Linked DNA regions of Homo sapiens: regions 2, 3 and 4 are each linked to region 1. The links are contacts of gene promoters, found by promoter capture Hi-C in blood cells and fetal thymus (Javierre and others, 2016). All regions are on one chromosome and are shown on one strand. Each heading gives the region's core, a stretch centred on a gene start or on the middle of the fragment in contact. The rest is flanking DNA. Distances are from core to core; before and after follow the strand shown.

Region 1 (2,700 bases), core at 65-2,564:
CTCCCCGAAAGCATCCATAAATCCTAAAATATGAATCTAACCTTCCCCCTGTGTCTTTCTTTGTAGGAGCTGGCCATAAAGACATTCTCTGACCTACTCTGTTTGATAGTAGGTCCTCAGATCCGCATTCCAAAGGGATCCTGTCCCATACTTGGGAGCAAGAAATGCCACACAGAGAGGCCATGAAGAACTCAAACAGAGAGGCCTTGCTGGGTCCTTCTTTCAGTCTATGACTCTTAGATTACAGCCTTTTGTCCCATCACACTTCTGCATTCTGCACAGCCTTTGTGAATTCTAAGTATGCAAGTGGCCAGTTTCTTTGGATATCTGAGTCTTCATTTATGAAGACTCCAGTGTCAGGTAAACCTTGGATTAAATAAATTTGTATGTTTTCTTCTTCTTCTTTTTTTTTTTTGAGATGGAGTCTAGCTTTGTTGCCCAGGCTGGAGTGCAGTGGCATGATCTCGACTCACTGCAACCTCTGCCTCCCGAGTTCAAGCGATTCTTCTGCCTCAACCCCCTGAGTAGCTGGGATTACAGGCGTGCACCACCATGCCCAGCTAGTTTTTGTATTTTTAGTAGAGACAGGGTTTCACCATGTTGGCCAGGCTGGTCTTGAACTCCTGACCTCATGATCCGTCCGCCTTGGCCTCCCAAAGTGCTGGGATTACAGGCGTGAGCCACCGCGCCTGGCCTTGTCTACCAGTTTTATTTCAGGCTCAGTTAGGAGCCTTAGGAGGGTTGAGAAAACTTTTCCTTCTCTCTAGTTTATCCTAGTAACTTACACTGTTTGCCTGTATGTGCCAGTGTATTATTATTTCCTGGAGGCCAAGGCCCATAGCTTATTCTAATGTTTCTCTGGCAGTCCTTAGCATGTAACTGGGCTCAGCATAAATGCTTATATGTACCCACAAATCGAATCATAGTTGCGGGTACACTAATAACAAATATTAGTTTGAAGGAAAAAAGAACAATTTAGAGCAGCCGCAGAAGCCAAACAAAAAACTCTGACCAAAGCCATTCATTGTGCAAAGCAGTAAGCCTAGGGGGTAGAGTCACATTTGCCCCCGTGAGTAATCTCCCAACTCAGCTCTGCCATTGGCAATTCCTCACCACTCTGTCCAAGTGGGCATCAGCAATCCGCAGCAATTGGAAAAGGTAGCCATCCCGTCGCCTTTTATTGATCAGGTCTAGAGCTTTCTCAGCCTCCGGCTCAACAGCACTGCAGTCAGTGGGACTCACGGCACACGAATACTGCAATGTGATCAAAAGCAGTGCTGCAATGAGTGCCTTCATTTTGTTAAACCATCCCTTGCTATGATCTGCCACTGCAGAGAATTTTATACAGACTTTCTGAAACACACGCAATTGATTAAACAAAACCTTGATACATTTTTGTTGTGTAACTGAGGGTGTTCACCTTGACCCTGGGTTCAAATAACCATCAACAAGCTGTAAATGATTAGTGGGTCCTGGGGGCAGAAAGCTGAGAAATGCTGATGAGTGGGTGGAACTGTGATCTGCACAAATCTGGATTTTTCTAGTAGATAGCAGATCTAAAGTACGTCTTTGAATATAAGCAGTGCCTATGTTGGTGTAGGGGGTGGGGCTAGGGGTAATTTTCCTCCATCTGCCTGCCTGTCTCAGCTGGAAATCTCCATCATCAGTCAGTGGACTGATGGATCATGGCACTAAAACTCCTCAGTAGAAGGCAGCTGCATTATCTAAGCGGGGGAACATGTTAAACAGGTACCATTATAAAAGGAATGACTTCAGGTAAAATAGAACAATGAAGAGGCTGTCGTTTTGAAGTCAAATCTGAATTTCTCACCTGGCTCTATTACTTTCTTACTGTGTAATGCTGGGTAAGCAACAAAACTTCTCTGATAGTTCCCTCATTTACGAAATATGGATTGATACCTCTTGGCAGGCTTGTGTGATAATTAAATAAGAAATCAGGCTGGGTGCGGTGGCTCATGCCTGTAATCCCAGCACTTTGGGAGGCCAAGGCAGGCTGATCACAAGGTCAGGAGATTGAGACCAGCCTGGCCAACATGGTGAAACCCTGTCTCTACTAAAAATACAAAAAATTAGCTGGGCATGGTGGCACATGCCTGTAATCGCCGCTACTTGGGAGGCTGAGGCAGGAGAATCACTTGAACCCGGGAGGCGGAGATTGCAGTGAGCTGAGATCGCGCCACTGCACTCCAGCTCGGGCGACAGTGTGAGATTCCATCTAAAAAAGAAAGAAAGAAAAAAAGAAAGCAACCAGTATAATTCTTGGCATAGAGTAGATGCTGAATAAGTGATGCTATTTATTATTAGTGTGCCTGCAAAGAAGTTGGGGACACCTCATGCCACCCCAATTCCCTGCAAAAAGAATTGATTCACGTGGAAGAGGATGGTGGTGAGAGTAAGAGTCAAATAGTTGGATGCCCATCCCACTGTTAGAAGGGATCAGCAGGGGGGGACTGGGCTATGATACAGCTGACCCCCTACCTTCACACTTCAGAAGAAACCCGTATACCTATATGCAACCCTCAGACCAGCAGAGCCAGCAGCATCAGAAGGGACCAGAGGGAATCAGCCTAGGTTCCGTCCTCACTGCCAAGAAACAGCCAGTTAGGCAGCATCTCCATTCCTCCCTGTTCTATCCGCAGTGAGTGTCTGTGAGAGTCTGCAGTCATGTCTCTCAGACTC
Region 2 (2,700 bases), core at 181-2,680, 670 kb after region 1:
CGCTGTTAATAGGAGATCATCAGAATCTAGCTAAAAAGTATGCTAATCACATCACCCTAAGTTACTCTGGAGACATTTAGACCCTTCATAACCTAGACCCTTCCTCTCTCCAGCCCCATCTCTCATCATGATTCATCTCTCAAATAATATTCCAGTGATAACCTTTTTGGAGCTGATCATTTAAAGCAAGCTACATCCCTCCTCTATGCCTTTGTTTACACTGTTCCTTTGCCCAGATTGTCTTTCAACCTGTATCCTATTCCTATCTCTATTTATCCAAAACCCTCTCATCTTTCAAAGCCCAGCTCATATATCATCTTCTCTATCAATATCTCTATCTTTCTTCAACTGATCCCCTTCCCTATACCACCATAATCTTTCAGTTCTGAATGCTAATGGTAGCTTGAGGCTATATTGGTTATACTCACTGCCTTTGTCCATCGTAACTCCTGTACAACTTTAATATTCAGTTCAGTTTTCACCTCCTCCAAGAAACCTACCCTGTTGCTCCCAGGCTTAGCTGAGAACCCCATCAAGCTTCATGCCTTGTGTGTGTCTGTGTGTGTGTGTATCTTCCTCACTAAGCCGTAAGGACCTCCATGGCAGGGACAGAGTCACAATTATGCATATCTCTCCAGAACTTAACATAATGGGGATAACTCTTGGGAGCTTAATTGAGCCAAAAATCCTTGCCACTTGGGACATCTCCTCAGAGATGACATTTGCAGGGAGCAGTTACCTGTGGCCAACAAGGAGATGTTTACCCAGTACCCATTACCCAGTGCACTGCATTATTCTGGAGATTAAAGAAAGCAAGCCTGAGGCCGAGCATGGTGGCTCACGCTTGTAATCCCAGCATTTTGGGAGGCCGAGGCGGGTGGATCACCTGAGGTCAGGAGTTCGAGACCAGCCTGACCAATATGGTGAAACCCCGTCTCTACTAAAAATACAAAAATTAGCCAGGTATGGTGGTGCGCGCCTGTAATCCCAGCTACTCAGGAGGCTGAGGCAGAAGAATTGCTTGAACCAGGGAGGCGGAGGTTACAGTGAGCCGAGATTGCGCCACTGCACTCCAGCCTAGGCGACAGAGCCATACTTTCTCTCAAAAAAAAAAAGAAAAGAAAAAGAAAAGAAAAGAAAGCGAGCCTGGGCAACATGGTGAAACCCCTTCTTTACTAAAAGTAAATAAAATTAGCCAGCCAAGTGTGGTGGTGTGCGCCTGCGGTCCCAGCTACTCCAGAGGCTGAGGTGGGAGGATCGCTTGAGCCTGGGAGGTGGAGGTTGCAGTAAGCTGAGATTGCACCAATGTACTCCAGCCTGGGCAACAGAGAGAGACCCTGTCTCAAAAAAAAATAAAAAATAAAAATAAAGAAAGCAGAACCAGTCAGCCTAACACAGCCAAAGACTGAGTTTACTGCTGTGGTTTCTCCCTGGTATCAAGGGAGATTGTCCCATCTGCTTTCAAAAATTCAAATAAAGTAACAGACACTGAACAAGGCACTCGATGTGGTGTAGAAGACACATAATTATAAATAAGGCATTGTTCTGTCCCCAAGGTCCCCTCGTGGCAGACACAAAAGAGTGCAGTACACAAGTCCCATGGATGAGCTTGAGGCATCAGCTTTGCTTTGAAGAGTTAAGAGAAGCCTCACAGAAGAAGCGATATTTGACCTGGGTCCTCGAGGATGAGGAGGAATCTACTAGGCAAAGATGGGAACTAGGGGAGGACAATCTAGGCTGAGGGACCAGTCCGTGCAAAGGCTCACAGGCTGGCATGGACATGGCACGTCTGGGGGATGGCACATGTCTAGCTCGTAGGTGCCAGAGTCTTCGTGGAAGGTGAAGGAAGAAACGGGGGCAGAAGTGGAGCTTGGGACCTGCTTGTGGGGAGCCTTGAGCATTGTGTTAAAGATGAGGCTCTTATTTGACAAGCACTGGGGAGGCTTGAATGCTTCTAAGCATAAGAATAAAAACTGGCAGCAGTGCTCAGGACAGACAAGAGGGGCAAGAAGGCGTATCAGAGAGTATTGCTATAGTTGGTGAGAATGATAAGGATTAGGACAGAGTGCTGTGCTAGAGGAGAGGACGGCGCATGGCTTGAGAGATGTTGTGGGGGTGGAACCGCAAGGAGCCAAGCCTGTTCGGCATCCCGAATCCTTCCAGCACTACCCACATGGCCCCTATTCCCCCGCTCCCCAGCACATCCTTCTTCCCTCCTTGGCTGTTAAACCCTAAGGCAAGGAGATTCCAAATGCTGACTACATCTTCCTTGGCCCATCTCAGCTTTTGGCAAATAAATTGGTGCCATTCCCCAGAAAGCTTTTCTTGAACTTCATAAAGTTAGCAAAGAGGAGAAGTGTTAACAGTATGATCTGTTGAGTACCAAATTCTAATCCCAGCCCTAACACTAACCTAGCTTTTTCACTCCCTGAAATCCTGCCAAAATCAAAAGAGAAGGTCTGTGCCAGACACAAGTAATTTCAGCTGAACAAGCACTCCGAGGGTCACAGAGTGCTGTTTTGCTCGAAAAATGTTCTGCTGCTTCGGAACTGGCTTTGGGCTGCTGGTGGTGGCTCATGTGGATGACACAGTCAGAGGAGCATGGAAAGTATTTTTCTTTGGTAAACAAATATTTCAGTGTTGATGCTGAATTAAATCAGAAGCTCCAAGAATACAGGTGTCATTCATTTATTAACAGAA
Region 3 (2,700 bases), core at 77-2,576, 530 kb before region 1:
CCTGGCCGGCATTGGGAAAAACTCTTAAGTTCTTCAGGACCCTTCATTAAACTTTCAGTCCTTCAAGTCAGTATTCTTACCTCTGAATTAAGGCAACCAACACCTAAATAAGTAAACTCGTTTAACAAACCTCACAGATATGATGGGAACTGCCTCAGGTGGGAGTTACTGGCCAAAATGAGAATGGGGGCTGTGGACCTTCCCAGAAAATACGTGAAGCTGAGAGGAGCTTATAACAAACAGTGCTACCCAGAACAAATCCTCTAGAAGTATTTTGCAGGTGTTGCTACAATAAACACTATGATGACAGAAGACAGAAAGTAAGAATCACCAGAGGGGTGTGTGTGTGTGTGTGTGTGAGTGTGTGTGTGTGTGTAACCAGCTGATGCAATCCCCATTGGCACAAATTAAGTTTTATTTAGAACCCAAGCTTGCTGTGCAGAGGCCAATATAATGCATCCTTCTGGATAGCAGAGTATTTTCTCTAATAAAAATTTCTATCAAGACAGAAAAAAATACTGTGGTATTGCAACTTGCTCTCTATCAAATGACCTCTAACACCATGGAATCTACAATTTAGAGAAGGCCAATTCAGACATCTCTAAAGCTGTTGGCCTCACCCTGGTCAATTTCTTAAAGTTTGTGATCATGTTTTAAGTGGATAAAATGCTTTAAATTAAGTTCCCAACTAGAAAATAGAGCAATGAAAAGAAAAAACAAGCCTCTAATTTTTTTTCTTGAAATGATGCACTCATGAAAAATTCTCAACTATGCACAATTTTCTATCCCTAAATGGCATTTGAGAAGAAGGAGGGGTGTGTTTTAGGGCTGGACCCATGACTGGAAGTTTCTACTGGTACCCTGTACCAAAGATCTAAATGTGCCTCACAGTCCCAAAACAAAGACTCTTTCCTTCCAGAATGCCCCAACATTGCTGGACCAGAACAGTAAGCCCCTCCATCTGTTGATTTAATGATATTAAGAGCCCATGTAGTAGTCTCAACTTTAAAGGAATTTTTAATTTTCTTCTCTAATGGCAACATTTTTTTTCCTTGGGTACTAAGATTTCTAAAATAGCAGAGATCAAAGTTATGGGTACAGAAAGAAAAGGGAAAAAAAACTAGTTTACCATTAGGGCTAATTTTGAGAAAGCCAGTCCATTCTACCCTTTAATTCTTGGAACTAAGCACTATATCATCATGGTTGCTAATTCTGAGCATGTACCACATCCTGGAGAACATTATCCTAGCCCTGCAAGGTCCTGTCCCCCAGCTGATTCTATAACTGAGTCTTCCAAAGACCACCACATTGTTCAATCAGGCCAACTACTTCAGGATTATGGGTGATATAGTTAAGACTAATGAATTTCATGAGTGTGAGCTCATTGCCAGATTTCCTTTACTTTGAAATGAGTTGCCAGTCAGAAGCAATGCTATATGGAATATCACAATGGTATATAAGGAATTCTCTAAATCCACTGCTAAGTGCCTGATATGGTTTGGATTTGTGTCCCCACCCAAATCTCATGTTGAATTGTAATCCCCAATGTTGGAAGAGGGTCCTGGTGGGAGGTGATTGGATTATAGTGGTGGATTTCCCCCTTGCTCTTCTGGTGATAGTGAGTGAGTTCTCATGAGATCTGGTTGTTTAAATGAGTGTAGCACCTCCCCCTTCGCTCTCTCTTCCTCCTGCTTCAGCCACGTAAGACAAGCCTGCTTTCCTTCACCTTCCGTCATGATTGTAAGTTTCCTAAGGCCTCCTCAGCTATGCTACCTGTACAGCCTATGGAACCCTGAGCCAATTAAACCTCTTTTCTTTATATTAATAAATTACCCAGTCTCAGGTATTTCTTTTTAGCAGTGCAAGAATGGACTAATACAATGCCCAAATTCCAAAAACAGAGAGAGACCAACACTGAACAATTGATTGGGCCATGATTCCATGGGAAACAACCAACGACCTGGTGGCAAGTTGATTACACTGGACCATTTCCATCAAGGAAGGGATAGACCTTTGTTTTCACTGGAAGAAACAATTACCGTGAATATGGACTTCCCTTCCTCTCCACAATGCCTCTGCCATTTGTGAACTTTCATAATGCCTTATTCACCATTATGGTATTTCTCCACTTGGGTCTTTCCTTTTAGCTGCTCAGGCTTCTTCACTACATGGTAGTTTGTTTCCAAGAAGATTCATTCTAGGAAGAATAAATGGAAGCTTCCAGTCCTCCTTAAGGCTAGAGTCAGAAGTCCCATAACATCACTCCTGTCATATTCTGTTGATGAAAGCAATCACAGGGCCAGCCCGATATAGGGGAATGGGAAATAAACTTCAACTCTTGATGGGGAAATTGCCTGTGCCTATAGGAAGGGAAGGAATTGGTGGCAGCCATCTTTGGAGACTTTCTACCACAGTACCTGATTATTTTTCTTCATCCTTCAAAGAGCTTAGTGCCTTGAGAACACGATGTCCAATTCTATGATGTAGGTAGAGGTTGACATTATTTTGCAAAAAAAAAAAAAAAAAAAAGCAAACTAAGGATCAAAAAGGCAAAGTAGCCAAAGAGTAAACTAATCCAGCAAGTCCAATCCCAAAACATAGCCAGATAGGAACAGTAGGGCTGCTCCCTTTGGGTCAAAGCAAAGGAAAGCATTACAGGTACCCAGCCTGCCAGTACCACCCACCTCTGCATGCCCAGTC
Region 4 (2,708 bases), core at 67-2,566, 580 kb after region 1:
AAAAGAGAAAAGTGATGATTTGTTTAGCTAGTTCTACCTCGTATAATTACTAAGAAGTAACTCCTAAAGATGTTTTAGGAGTAAACATTGAGTCAAAATGAAAATGTTACTGGGTCACCAGACCACTGACTGTAGTTAGCTATTTAATGAGACCTTTGATACAGTGGCCAGTGGCCAGCATAGAAGCTTAACTTGCTCTCCTTCCCCACCTTCCAAGGTAGCTAGACAAGGAGTAACCATTCTAACTCAACTAGAAGGCAGCCCTTATAGCGCAAAATGCATCTTTCCACTTTGGATAAAATGCTGTCTCTGCAACAATTTAGCTCCTAGAGAAGACAGAAAAGGCAAACTCGGTTTTTTGTTCTTTGGGTTTATTTTGGCCACTACATGTAAATCACCTTGATTTGAAAAATTCTTGTTACTCTGCCCTCTCAGAATCCTATGTGGTATATGTAGTTGGCTTCCAAGCCAAAAGCAGTAGCTCCATGTATTTATTCCATGAATTCAGCAAAATTCACTGCACCATCTATGAAAGGACTGGTTACGCAAACCTACCCTTGCTGGTCGGTCACTGAGACAGGCCTGGAGCAGATGTTGTAAGCACAAAGGTAGCCAGGCTTTCTGCTTTCTGTATTCATTAGCCTTTCCTAGGTGGTGGATTGGTCTGTTGTTTTATTCCTTTGCTTTTAAAATTTTTGGAATGCCTCTAAAGTTGAGTATTTCTTGCTGAGAGCTGATATTTAAAGTTACTTGAGAAAGGACTTTTTAAAAATTCTATATTTAATTTGTAAATATGCATCTGAATAAGAAATATATTTGCCACAGCAATTTTAAGCCTTTGATAAGCTTAAATGTGTTGGTAATGTCTACCAACACATTTTTGGTCGTTTTGTCCTTTTTGGAAACAAAATTCTTCATGTCTGCAGCCACTTGCATTTTTGGTGGAGACCCATTACCTGCAAGGTTTTTAAGGATTTTGCAGCTTCTGGAAAGCAAGACCCATGACCAAAGAAATTTGGGAAAAAAGACTTGGCTAATTAAAAGTATCAGATGATGATACTTTTTCTGACTTTGAAGAATTTAATTGGCTTTGGATGGGAGGTTGTGTGTTTAAGCGTTTTGCTTTTTCTGACATGTGACTTGACATGAGTTCCAAGAACAATCAGCTAGTTAGAAGGTTTGCAGAAGGAAGCATTGTGCTCCCTGTTAATCAGCTGTTCTCTCTCTATTCCCCTCTCATCCCTCTTCTGATTTCAGTGGTGCTTCATGCCCCACCTCCAACCAAGATCAAACGGGAGCTGCACAGCCCCTCCTCTGAGCTGTCGTCTTGTAGCCATGAGCAGGCTCTTGGTGCTAACTATGGAGAAAAGTGCCTCTACAACTATTGGTGAGTGGGCAAGAGGAGTCGAAGAAAGGCTGCCCAGAAAGGCTCTGGAAGTAGCCATCAAGCTGAATGTTCCTTCCCAGTGTTACTTACCCAGCAGACCCTGTGGTAAAACATATCCTTCTTTCATGGCAGTGTCATCCTCCGGGTGTAGTCCAGTCCCCTTGGGATCATTGTACTGCACACAAAAGAAAACCATTAAAAACCTTGTGGCTCTACAGAGCACTAAGTTCATAGGGTACCCAGTCCTTCTAGGGAAAGAGTCTCAATCCTGGGATACTTGATCTGTGGCTTTGAGGCAGGTAATATATACTTCTTCATGTCTATCATATGTTAATGTGAACTTTAAGCACCAGAGAAGTAATCTCCAAATCAGAATATATGAAAAAGTCTTGAAGCTTGTGCCCTTTACTTAAGAATATCCAGGCCCCAGGAATGAAGCTTTAATTTTAAATCATTCTTTGCTCTAGAAGATAAACATAGATTTGCCTGAAAGGGGGAGGAGAAGAGTTGTTAATTCAAATGATGTCACAGCACAAACAGACCTTCAACACATATTCTGACTAATTCCTGGGAACCCTGGAAATAGTTGGGAGAGGGGACCAGAGAACACCTGGCAAACATACATTCTCCCCTCACCCACCCACCCTACACAGGCATACACGGAGAATTCTTTTAGAAGGAGGGAAAAAGGAAACCGGAAGCAGAGGCTAAAATTATCCTTGAGAAAAATCACTAGAAGTGTTAAACAAGTCCCTGTGACGCAGTGTGTTTGTCACTTTTCAGAGGTACAAATATCCCCTCGGGGCTACGAGCGATTTAACTATGTTAATGCTGTTATTTCCTGGCAACAATGGGCTGCAAACTAGCTTTCTGCTGGACCTGGTAACCATGCTAATGGCTTCATTTCAGCTTAATGGTTCCTTCTCTTTTTCTGTTTACAGTGCCTATGATAGGAAGCCTCCCTCTGGGTTCAAGCCATTAACCCCTCCTACAACCCCCCTCTCACCCACCCATCAGAATCCCCTATTTCCCCCACCTCAGGCAACTCTGCCCACCTCAGGGCATGCCCCTGCAGCTGGCCCAGTTCAAGGTGTGGGCCCCGCCCCCGCCCCCCATTCGCTTCCAGAGCCTGGACCACAGCAGCAAACATTTGCGGTCCCCCGACCACCACATCAGCCCCTGCAGATGCCAAAGATGATGCCTGAAAACCAGTATCCATCAGAACAGAGGTGGGTGTTGATCTGGGCTTCTTCCTTAATTGTCTCCCTCACTCCTATCCTTTCTCACTGGGAGAGGGGAAGCAGTTTGTCTTATTTACCAG

The links. Contacts are between HindIII fragments. The CHiCAGO score rates a contact against its expected background, and 5 or more counts as called.
Region 2: a contact is called between a fragment that was not itself captured here and the fragment with the promoter of HRG in region 1, in 1 of 17 cell types (activated CD4 T cells). The highest score is 6.9, in activated CD4 T cells.
Region 3: a fragment that was not itself captured here is called in contact with the fragment with the promoter of HRG in region 1 in 6 of 17 cell types (total CD4 T cells, activated CD4 T cells, naive CD8 T cells and 3 more); the score reaches 6.5 in total CD4 T cells.
Region 4: a fragment that was not itself captured here is called in contact with the fragment with the promoter of HRG in region 1 in 1 of 17 cell types (activated CD4 T cells); the score reaches 5.0 in activated CD4 T cells.

Annotation. Positions count from the first base shown.
Region 1 is chr3:186,664,628-186,667,327 of GRCh38, reverse strand. It overlaps HRG (histidine rich glycoprotein), which reads right to left and starts at 1,314. Exons shown (of 7, transcript NM_000412.5): 1 at 1,114-1,314. The coding sequence starts at 1,296. HRG-AS1 (HRG and FETUB antisense RNA 1) reads left to right here and starts at 1,694. Exons shown (of 3, transcript NR_187317.1): 1 at 1,694-1,749. The HindIII fragment of the contact is 4,199 bases long and covers 1-2,700 here.
Region 2 is chr3:185,992,740-185,995,439 of GRCh38, reverse strand. No RefSeq gene overlaps it. Among named protein-coding and RNA genes, the nearest start is that of TRA2B, 56 kb to the right of the region's middle. The HindIII fragment of the contact is 1,782 bases long and covers 540-2,321 here.
Region 3 is chr3:187,191,487-187,194,186 of GRCh38, reverse strand. No RefSeq gene overlaps it. Among named protein-coding and RNA genes, the nearest start is that of RTP1, 4.6 kb to the left of the region's middle. The HindIII fragment of the contact is 1,787 bases long and covers 433-2,219 here.
Region 4 is chr3:186,079,725-186,082,432 of GRCh38, reverse strand. It overlaps ETV5 (ETS variant transcription factor 5), which reads left to right. Exons shown (of 13, transcript NM_004454.3): 6 at 1,258-1,387; 7 at 2,329-2,616. ETV5-AS1 (ETV5 antisense RNA 1) reads right to left here. Exons shown (of 2, transcript NR_046594.1): 2 at 1,486-1,873. It overlaps LOC124909470 (a long non-coding RNA gene), which reads left to right and starts at 2,624. Exons shown (of 2, transcript XR_007096205.1): 1 at 2,624-2,708. The HindIII fragment of the contact is 936 bases long and covers 849-1,784 here.